2 separate regions of the Homo sapiens genome follow, and region 1 is linked to region 2. Evidence: promoter capture Hi-C in 16 types of primary human blood cells and fetal thymus (Javierre and others, 2016). All regions are on one chromosome and are shown on one strand. The core of a region is centred on a gene start or on the middle of the fragment in contact, and the rest is flanking DNA. Distances in the headings are between cores, read along the strand shown.

The links. Contacts are between HindIII fragments. The CHiCAGO score rates a contact against its expected background, and 5 or more counts as called.
Region 1: the fragment with the promoter of ANKRD17 here is called in contact with a fragment that was not itself captured in region 2 in 1 of 17 cell types (total CD4 T cells); the score reaches 6.8 in total CD4 T cells.

What each region holds. Positions count from the first base shown.
Region 1 is chr4:73,256,998-73,262,081 of GRCh38, forward strand. ANKRD17 (ankyrin repeat domain 17) reads right to left here and starts at 1,801. Exons shown (of 34, transcript NM_032217.5): 1 at 1,279-1,801. The coding sequence starts at 1,671. It overlaps ANKRD17-DT (ANKRD17 divergent transcript), which reads left to right and starts at 2,169. Exons shown (of 5, transcript NR_187399.1): 1 at 2,169-2,411. RefSeq lists a silencer at 1,493-1,892 and enhancers at 1,854-2,450, 2,053-2,322. The HindIII fragment of the contact is 8,436 bases long and covers 1-5,084 here.
Region 2 is chr4:53,364,173-53,369,634 of GRCh38, forward strand. It overlaps SCFD2 (sec1 family domain containing 2), which reads right to left and starts at 1,889. Exons shown (of 9, transcript NM_152540.4): 1 at 932-1,889. The coding sequence starts at 1,769. RefSeq lists enhancers at 1,315-1,364, 1,585-1,784, 1,805-1,854. The HindIII fragment of the contact is 212 bases long and covers 2,570-2,781 here.

The sequences.
Region 1 (5,084 bases), core at 551-3,050, about 20 Mb after region 2:
CAGAGACCAGGATTCAATAATTCCAATTTTCGGAAAACCAGACTTGCATCAAAATAAGTTCCATGTTTGTGGAAGAGAATAAATAGTAAGTGGTACTTTTAGATGAATCACTTGGTCTCCTCTTAGAACTAAGTTTAAAATCAGCCTTTAAAGCTGTTTTCCCTCTGCTGATAAAGATTTCCCTCTCCAAATAAAGATTTTTCTAGATTCTATTTCAGGAAGGAGACAAGAGAGTGGTAAAACAGCTAATAACTAGTAAAGCTAACTCTCAGTTGGTTGTCAGTATGGTATGTTTTACTGAGCCTTTGGGTTGTAAGGGCTTCTGTGAGGAATAAGGTCCTGCAACGCCGCCTGTCTGTGGACCCAGGAAAAATTATAAAGTTATTATGAAACCAGATCACTAGGACAAACCGAGAGGCCTTCCTATTCCAACTCACCACAACCAGGCCTGGCTCCAAAGCCTACCCTTTGGCTGTCCCATATTACGGGACAACAGGTCCTAGCTTAATTCTAACTCACTAAGGAAACATTCGAAGGCATGTATGTATGTACGTGTAAGGATCAAATATATTTTTCATCCACTTACAAATGTATATGGTCATTTGTAATTATTTAAAGTTACTGATAAATTTATACAAATACAGCATCAGTTCATCGAAAATCCCTGGGAGATCGAGGAAATGAAGTTACTTCAGCAGCCAGGATAGTTACGAAAAACCCTGCAGAACAGTATGGAAAAGTACAGCTTCTCACGTGTCCCTCACATACACAAACACTTAGCTCTGAGTCCATTACAACCTTACGTCCCCCCTCAAACTGCTCCCCTCCACCTCACAACTGGGAGAAGTTGATCAACCTCCTAGTTGGTCCCCAAGAGACTCATTTACCCATTATTTTACTCCTCCCGCTTTGATCCCGATCCCGCCTCAGACTAAGGTGGCCCTACTGGCCCCAGGCAGACCACCCCCCCACCCCCCGGCGTGCAAACAGGGAATCTAACCAATTCCCTCCATCCTTAACCAAGTGAGCCATCCCATGATAACAGGCTGTTCACCAACTCTGTGAACTCCGTGGTCCTCCCACCCCCACGTGTCAGCTACCCTCCCCCACATTCCCACACCTCACGATTTAGGCCGAGGGAAGAAAGGGGGCAGTCGAAAGCCTGGCCCCTAAGAGATCAACCCACTGGAATCTGTCCCACTCCAAATCCCCTCCCACCTTCGGCCCCTATCCCTTACAGTCCCTTCCTCCCTCCTTCCTTTGAAACCAGGCCCTTGCCTCAGAAACCTCCTCTTCCTCGTCGTCGTCGTCCTCTTCTTCCTCGCTGTTGTTACTGCTGGTGCCGCCGCCGCCACCTCCGCCTCCACCGCCGCCTCCACCGCCGCCGCTGTTGTCGCTGTCGCTGCTGCTTTCGCTGCTGCTGGGGGGTCGGCAAGTCCGGTTACGCTTGGCCTTGTGGTGCTGCTGCTGCGGCGGCTTCTTCTTCAGGAGCAGGTCGCAGACTCGCACCATCCCACGAGGAGACGAGGCCGAGCGAGCTCTGCTGCTGCCGCCAACGCCGCCGCCGACCTCCGCCGCCGCGGGGGGGCCCGCCACAGCCGCCACCGCCGGGGGGCTCCCTTCTCCTTCTGCAGCCGTCGCCGCCGCCACCGGAACCGTCGCCTTCTCCATCCCCAGGGAAAGAGGGAGGGCGCGGACGGGGGAGGGGCGTGGGGCTACGCTCTACCGCGACTTCGGCCGCACTGGGGCCGACACAGCAATCGGTGCCGCCTCCGCCGCCACCGCCTCGGTCACCTCTACTGCCGCCGCCGCCGCCGCCGCTCCGCCAGCTCTCACCTCGTCTCGCGATACTAAGGGCGGGGAGCCTGACGATGGGAGGGAGGGAGGGAGGGAGAGGGAGGGAGCAAGGGAAGGAGGGTGAGGCGTAACAGGGAGACCGGGTGTCGGGAGAACCAGAGGAGAGGAGACTGGAAAGAAGCGGGGAAGTGTGCCTGGGGCAGCTTCCGAAGGGGAACGGCGGGGACAGATGAGGGGGGCGCGATTGCAACCAGAGCGCCCGCGAGCTCCCGGATTTCTTCTCTTTCCTCGCTATTTCCCGCACACACAGCCCTGCAGCCCTCCCTTCTTCCTTCCTGGCTTGTGATTAGAACGCAGCCGCAGGCGGAAGTGCAGTGACGCCATCAGCCGTCGCCTGAGCCGTGGCGCGCGGGTGGCCGAAAGGCGAAAGTGAGATTTCAAGGGCCGGGTCTGGGGCCCCGCGGGCGCGCAGTGCTGCGGCGTGTGGGGAGTACGGGGAGGCTGGAGAGGAGCCGGCCCCGGGCAGTGTGAGGTGCGGAAGCGCGGTCCAGACACTTTGCTGACGGGAGGCCGGTCCGCCAGATCCGGGAGGTGGGGCCTCGTTCTGGACTGCTGTACGTAGTTTTATTCCTGGTCATTTTTTTCCACCGCCAAATCGAGAGATAGAGCTTTGGATCATGAGAGATGGCGTCGTGTTGGGAAAAGAGCCTTCTTTACCTGAGTTTAAGCTCGGCTCATAGACATCCTCTACCTGAGTTTACACGTGTGTAATATGAAGGCAGTCGATTAGGAGATGTCTAAGATCATTACTTACACCTCAAGTTTCCAAGGGGAGGAAGACACGGGAAGGATGCGTGGTCTGTGCCAGACTTTGTAGACGATTCACTGAATGACCCTGATTTAGCTCTTCCGGCCCTCTTCGATTCAGCTTGGAAGCAAGCATAAATAGTGATTGTTGTCTGTATACTTCTCTCGGAAGGAATGCTGTTATGGGAGTTGTGGGTTCATTTTTAGGTGTCTGAAGAAGTTTCAGGACTTTTGAAATGATAGTGGAGCCCATTGAACTCAGAATTATCCCTTTCTGGTCTAGTAGGAGTATAGTGGCATACGGAAAATGAAGCAAACATCAAAGACAGATGTACTGGCACAAGATTAAAAGTATGTCTCAGCTGACATAGTTGCCATTTTAAGACTGCTTAGTTTAGCTGAATATGCCTGGATTTTTTTTTTTTTTAGCATTTTTTTTCTTTTTAGCATTGGCATACCATATGAAATGTGGGCAGTTGCCAGTACTCTACAGAGTACCAAGGCAGAATTGGCAATGACTAAATCAATTCATTCAAACAAAAATTCATCATGTGCCTACTGTGCGCATAATTTGTGGAATCAAAGTCTCTTGTTTCCAGGGGCTTTACAGTGTAATAAGTGCTATAGTAAATATATATACGGAGTGGTAACCATCTGCCTATTCCTCTCCTACAGTCGTTGCTGAGTTCCAGTGTAGAACAGAGCACTGCATTGTGTATCTCACCACTACTGATTTAGATTTTATAATTTCAGCTGCATCCCTCCCTCCTACTTTGTATATTCTTCAGCATCTTTTTCTCCCTTTCCACTTGAATACTTTTCGCAATCTTTAAATCCCAGCCCATTTTATTATATGACTTTTAACTTAGACTTCACAATTTTCCAAGTGCTAGAAATTTCCTGAGATTGCCTTTTCTCCAGTATCAACGAATGAGAGACTCCCTGTTCATATATGAGATAAACTCTTCATACATATTCTAGTTCCAATACCCCTCTTTCTCATGCATTTATTATCTTTTCTGTTGTCAACCTTCTACAAATTCTGGTTCCTTAGCTAATTCTTCTGTAGCTTTCAATTATTTCCTTCACAAGCAAACTTTCTTTCTTTAAAAAGTATTCTATACTCAGGAGGCTGAAGCAGGAGAATCGCTTGAACCTGCGAGGCGGAGTTTGCAGTGAGCTGAGATCCTGCTACTGCACTCTAGCTTGGGCGACAGAGCGAGACTCCATCTCAAAAAAAAAGTGTCTACAATCAGTGTCTTTTTTGTTTTCTGAAATTGACTTGTCAGCCCTCTGCAGTCTAGTCTCTGTGTCTATCGTGCTGTGCTACCAAAAATGCTCTCTTTAAAGTAATCTCATTGTTTGGAAGAAAATGAGTTTTTTGTTCTTTAATATAATAGTGAAATGATGATCCTGTTTCACTAGTAGGATAAGGTTCAAAACTATTAAAATGGACAAGGCATGTAAAGTCACTTTCTTTTATTTTTATCTTTTTTTCCCCCCGTTAGAACCTCTGGCAGGGACTGACTAGCCCATGAAACTTATTTCTTCTTCCCGGGCACACAGCTAAACTAAATTTCACAGCTTTCCTTGTAGTTGGTTATAGTCATGTGATGAACTTCTTTTTTTGAGACAGAGTTTAGCTCTTGTTGCTCAGGCTGGAATGCAATGGCACAATCTCAGCTCACCGCAACCTCCGCCTCCCGTGTTCAAGCGATTCTCCTGCCTCAGCCTCCCAAGTAGCTGGGATTACAGGCATGTGCCATCACACCCGGCTAATTTTGTATTTTTAGTAGAGACACGGTTTCTCCATGTTGGTCAGGCTGGTCTCGAACTCCCGACCTCAGGTGATTCCCCCACCTCGGCTTTCAAAGTGCTGGGATTACGGGCGTGAGCCACCGAGCCTGGCCGTGATTAACTTCTAGCCAATTAAATATGAATGGAAATGATGTGCTCATTTTTAGGGTTAATGAAGTCCTCCTATTCTCCCTTACTCTTTCTTCGTCAACTTGATGCCTTTGAGCATGGTGACCTTCAAAACTATGTATTGGAGATGCCAAAGCCAGAAAAGAGAAGAATGAGTGGCTGAAACAGTACTTGGAAGACAGCCACCCCAATTAGAAACACCCCTTTTTGCACTTACTGTAAGAGAAAAAATTGAGATTTGAGAATTTATATGTATAGGAGCTAGAATGACCATAGCTAGTCCAGAAATTGGTACAAGAAGTGGAGTACTGCTAAAACAATAACCTAAAATATGTTACATCAGCTTATTTATGATGCAGCAGGTGGTAGAGAATGTGATTTGGAGGCTAGAAAAAGGAGGCCCATGTTTGCAGTGGCAAAGTAATTAGTAAAACTGTCACCTGAAATAATTCAAAATCAGATCACCTATCTGTTTAGATTAGCTCCAGAGGAAATGATTGAAAAGAGCAAAAGTAATACTGTGTTGAATTTTACATTTTACTTTTAGTAAGGTT
Region 2 (5,462 bases), core at 1,426-3,925:
TATTACCATTTAGCCTACTTTCCATTTTTTATCTGAAAATTAATCTTATTAAGATTAAAAACTCAAATATACCTATTTCGTTTTTTATAACTTAATTCAACTTTTTTTCTGACCGATTAAAGGGAATGCCTACCAATGTCAGTTTTCCGATTATTCTCCCTGGACTTGGAAGTGGCTAGGCTATATTACTAACAGTATTATACAACCTAATTAGAGAACAATAAAGTTGACCTTTGAAAATAACATATCAAACATCAGAAAGTGTCTTTTCTTCATCTGCTTTAAGGATTACATTTGTTTCTTTTGTGTAAATAATACATTATTACAATTTGAGATTATTTACTTAATCTTTAATACAATGAGAGCTAAAAATAAATCAATAAACATTTGAAAATATTTTCTACAATTCTATTTCATCTCATTTACTAGTAACATTTAAGTTCAGCCTCACTTTTGAACACTCATTTCCTAAACCTCAATTGTCTGTAATAATTTTATGTTTTCTTGTGCAGTAGTTTTCCTTCCGCTGGGTCATCTATTAACACTTCTCCAACAAACCAGAGTCTTCTTATGAAGGACTGTTGTGAATACTGGCATTCGTAAATTTCTAAAAATAAAATTTCCCAGGTGCACAGTTTTCCTCCCTGTCAGCATAATCTTGGGCTAAAGTTGTTGTTTAACAAGGCAATGGGCATTTATGACATTTCTACCCATTACAGCATTTAACAAATGTTATTGTAATTGCTAATTCACCTGTCTGTATTCCACTTTAGACAATAAACTCTGTGAGATTAGAGACCGTGTCCATCTAGTTCATCTTTGTATCCTCAATCTAATATATAATAAAAGGTCAATAAAATATATGCTGAATCAATGAAAGTCCCAGCAATGTGGGGAATGGTAATGAAGAACTCCAGAGCAATGCACTTACCTGTGAGATCCAGGGTTCTGTCCACAAAAACCACTGATGCCCTGCCTGCAGCAGTCTTCTTCCTGTTCTTTGCAGGGGCATAATTGGCCAGATCCGCAGCGATGACCTGACTTAAGGAACCTACAGCAAAACACTCCTCCCGTACTCCTAAATGTTCACACAGAGAACTGAGGCCTGACACTAGGCATCTGATCTGCAGCAGCAGCTCTGGGGTTAGCGTAGTGGAGTCCACATCACCCAGGCTTCCCAGCTTCCTCTTGTCCGGTCGGGCGCTATTAAGGAGGTGCACATCCTGGGGTAGCAGTGGGAAAAGGGATGCAAAAGCTGGAGTCAAGGCAAAGTGGGGAGCAACAGGGGCAAGCAATAACGGGACATGGAACACCTCGGCCGTGTAGTTCATGTTGCCCATCCATTCACACAGCTTCTCCTCCAGCTGCTCGAACACCGGCTGCTGCCCCTCCATCTCGGCCGCTGCCGCCGCTGGGACATGATTAGCTGTGAGGTGGACAGCGTGGCTCACGGTTGTGACCACCACACAATACTGGAAGTGACTGCGGCAGATGATGTCCCGTAGGATCTCCACGGTCCGGCCTTTCAGCAGGCAGCTCAGCACAAACACTGCCTTGGGCTGCTTGGCTCCACCACCAATTGCGTCGGGCTCGAACTCTCGCAGGTGACAGTCAGGACCCCCCACCGCCTCCAGGAGACGGGTGGATCCGCAGCCCCAGTGCAGGCTCTCGGCGCAGGCGGCGTCCAGGTAAACCACAGCCCGTTTCACTTTGGCCAGCACCTGCTCCCATCCTTGCTGGGTAAAGGACAGTACGCCCGAGGCGCTCATGGTTGGGGATTCGCAGACTTGGGAAACTACGGTGCAGGAACTTCTTTCAGAACTCACCGCTTCCGGAAATTGGGCTCCGGGAGACTTTGACAGTCTCCACAGTACACGTGGTCGGCCTCTGACACGCTCCCTGATGGCGCTCGGTGATGACGTTAAACTGAGCGGTGATTGGCTAGAGAGGAGGCCGGGAGTGAGGAAGGATGGCGCGGTCGGGAAAGAAGTGGGTGGGGCTCTGTGGCTCCGGGCTTCCTCAAAAGCTCGTGGAGATCAGGTGTTTCCTGAGATGGAGCTGAACTGAGTTCTTTCCGTCGCTCGGCCTGTCTGCGCAGATAATCTTCTCAGATAATCTTCTCATGTTCCTTGAAAAGTCTCCGAAATAAAAACCTAATCCGAAATTTGGTATCTTCCTTAGATATGAACACGTCTCCAAAAGTACAGCCACCTTCTCAATCTAAACTCAGAGCAACTAGAAAAAGATAATAAAAACAACCGTGTGCAATATTTTGGGTTTATAGATTGCTGTCACATACGTTATCGCCCACAAGCCTCATAACAAACCCTGTTGTTCTCATTTTCACTTTCTCCATCTTTCCTCCCTCATCTCATCGTCACTACATCTTATAGGCTTAAAAACTCTCAGAATTCAGCCCTTCCTCTCCATTTTTGCTGTCACAAAAACCCAACATCATCGCTCACCCAGGCAATGATCTCCCAACATTTTCTGACTTTTGATCTCTTTACCCTCCAATTCTATTTTCTTCCTAATAAACAAAGTTGGTCCTACAACTTTCCTGCTTAAAAGCTTCTCCTAGCCCAGTTGCCTATAGGATACATCCACACTCTTTAAAAAGCATCAACATCCTTCTTGATTTCTCAATTTCTCTCCAGCTATTCCCAACATGGAGAAAAATTGTACCGATACAATGAAGTCAATAGGCTGAACCCAAAATGTTTTATGGGTTCTGTTTGTTCCACCAATATACTTACATTACTAAGTATAATCTCTGTGCTAAGCTTCAAAGATGCAATGGTTAATAAAATTCATTACCTAATCCACAAAGAATTTACCTGGTAAACTTACCGAAAATAATCATTCCAACAGTACTGCCTGTGAGAGACTTTTTCTAACTCACCACCACTATCACCCTATCACCTCTCACTTCCCCCACCTATCAAACCACTCAATTGATACATTCGCTAAGTACTTGCCATATCATGGGGTAAGTATTAACACTATTTTCTTTAAACTATCTGTTTTGCTAAATTATGCACTAGATGCTTGGTATCCCCAACACTTATAACAGGTGTTCAATAAATGTTCGTTGAATGAATGTTCAATTAATATCCATGGCCAGGCGCGGTGGCTCATGCCTGTAATCCCAACACTTTGGGAGGCCGAGGTGGGCAGATCACCTGAGGTCAGGGGCTCAAGACCAGCTTGGCCAACATGGTGAAGCTCCGTCTCTACTAAAAGTACAAAAAATAGCTGGACATGGTGGCAGGTACCTGTAATCCCAGCTACTCGGGAGGTTGAGGCAGGAGAATCACTTGAACCCAGGAGGGAGAGGTTGCAGTGAGCCAAGATGGCACCACTGCACTCCAGCCTGGGCGACAGAGCGAGACTCTGTCTCAAAAAAAAAAAAAATTCCACATAATAATATATCCAGCCAATTTTTAATAAATACGTACAGTATTCCAAACACTGTCTGGGTTTTAAGGATATAAAGAAAACTAAACCACAGCCCTGATTTCAAAATAATTATGATGAAATAAAGGGACCCACACATGTAAAACAAGTGCAATAAAATGTTACAGAAGCAAATACTTTTTAAAATTTTTTGTATAGGAGTCAAGAAGGAGGAAAAATAAATTCTAAGAGAAAAAGGAAGAAGTCAGAAAAAGCTTCATATAGGGCATGAGTTTTGACTTGCCTTCAAAGAAACCCAGGTGTTCACCAGGTGGACAGGATGGGGAGGAGGATTCTTAGCAGTCCAGGCACAGAGTGCAGCATAAACAAAGTCGTAGAGGCATAAAACAGTACAATATGTTCTCTGGAACTACAAAGGGTTTCCTATAGCTGGAGTGCATTGTATGAAAAAAGGCGCAAGAAGAAATAAGAGCAAGGAATTAGAAAAGAAAGAAATGGGCTAGATCAGCAAGAGCCTTATTTTCCATTCTAAGTAGTAGCAGCCAGTGGGGAAGTATTAATGTATTTTGGGGTATGGAAATAATTTGTTCACATCTGGATTTTAGAAAAAAAATGGTTCTAGTCAAAACATGGAAAATAATTTGAAATGGAGCAATTTAGCGCAGAGGGAGCAGTTAAGAAAATAATAGTATCAGCAGCAAATCTGGGTGAGAGAGTTGAAAAGCGTAACAAGCAGATGGACAGAGTGGGGAGTATGAATAGACGTTAAGAATATAGTGCCAAAGGGCTTGCTTATTAGTTTGACAGAGAGGGTGACACGGAAGGAGAATTTCAGGTTAGCACCCAGCTTTCTGTCTGGATGACTGATGAATGCCAGTCATTGAGATTTGAAAAACCATTAAGAGAAGCAGATTGCGGAATAAATACAGAGTTTAGTGGGGACATATTTTTGTTTGTTTGTTTCCTTATGGCAAGATAAGTGTAACATAAAAGTCACACCATCTTAACCATTGTAAAATGTACATTTTGGTGGCATTAAGTACATTCACATTGTTGTATAACCAATCTCTGAACTTCTTGTCTCACAAAACTGAAACCCTGTACCCATTAAACAACAACTCCCCATTCCCCCTCTCCACAGTCCTTGGTGACTTCCACTCTACTTTCTGTTTCTATGAGTTGACTACTCTAGTTGTTGGCAATGTAGTAGTTGACTACTCTAGATACCTCATATAAGTGGAACAATACAGTATTTGTTTTGTTGTGATTGACTTATTTCACTTAGCATAAAGTCCTCCAAGTTAATCTATATTGTAACGTGCATCAGAATTTTCTTTCTTTTTGAGGCTGAATAACATTCCATTGTATGTTACACCATTTTGTTTATCCATTCATCTGCCTATGGACATTTGGTCTGCTTCCACCTTTTAGCTATTGTGAATAATGGCACCTTGAATATGCAGCAGAAGAGTCATAAACCTGGTAGAACCTAGTAGGTAAAAGGGCCAATGACAGACCCAAGTTCAAATGTTGAACTAGTAAACAAGAAGATATTCCTACATGTTTGTATCCTTGTCAGCATGAAAATTATTTTAAGGAGCTTAAGTTGAATAAGTTGTTGGATGACAGCCCTTGCTCTTCCATTTAAACCCAGGTCAGTGCCTAGTTACTAACACCTGCATTAATCTTGATCTCAAGCTCACTTTTTGTTTCTACCCCTTGCATCTCATGCTGAATCATACATTCATTAGGTAAGTTTGAGTGAATTAATACTTCATCTTCTCTGAAAGGGCAAGGCACTCATGAAGTCATGGTTGAATATTGTGCCAGTAAGTGCTAGTGGTCGCCTCAATATTTATTTGTCTCTTCTTCTGTAGTAATAGGTTTATTCTGAACTCATAGACACACAGCTAAAGACTACTTTTCCAAGCCTCTTGCAGCTAGCTATGGACAAATGATGAGGCACGGGTGAATAAGATAGTTGGAAGTGACACATACAGATTTCAAATAATTCCCTAAAGGTGTATGGTTTTCTTTCCCTACAA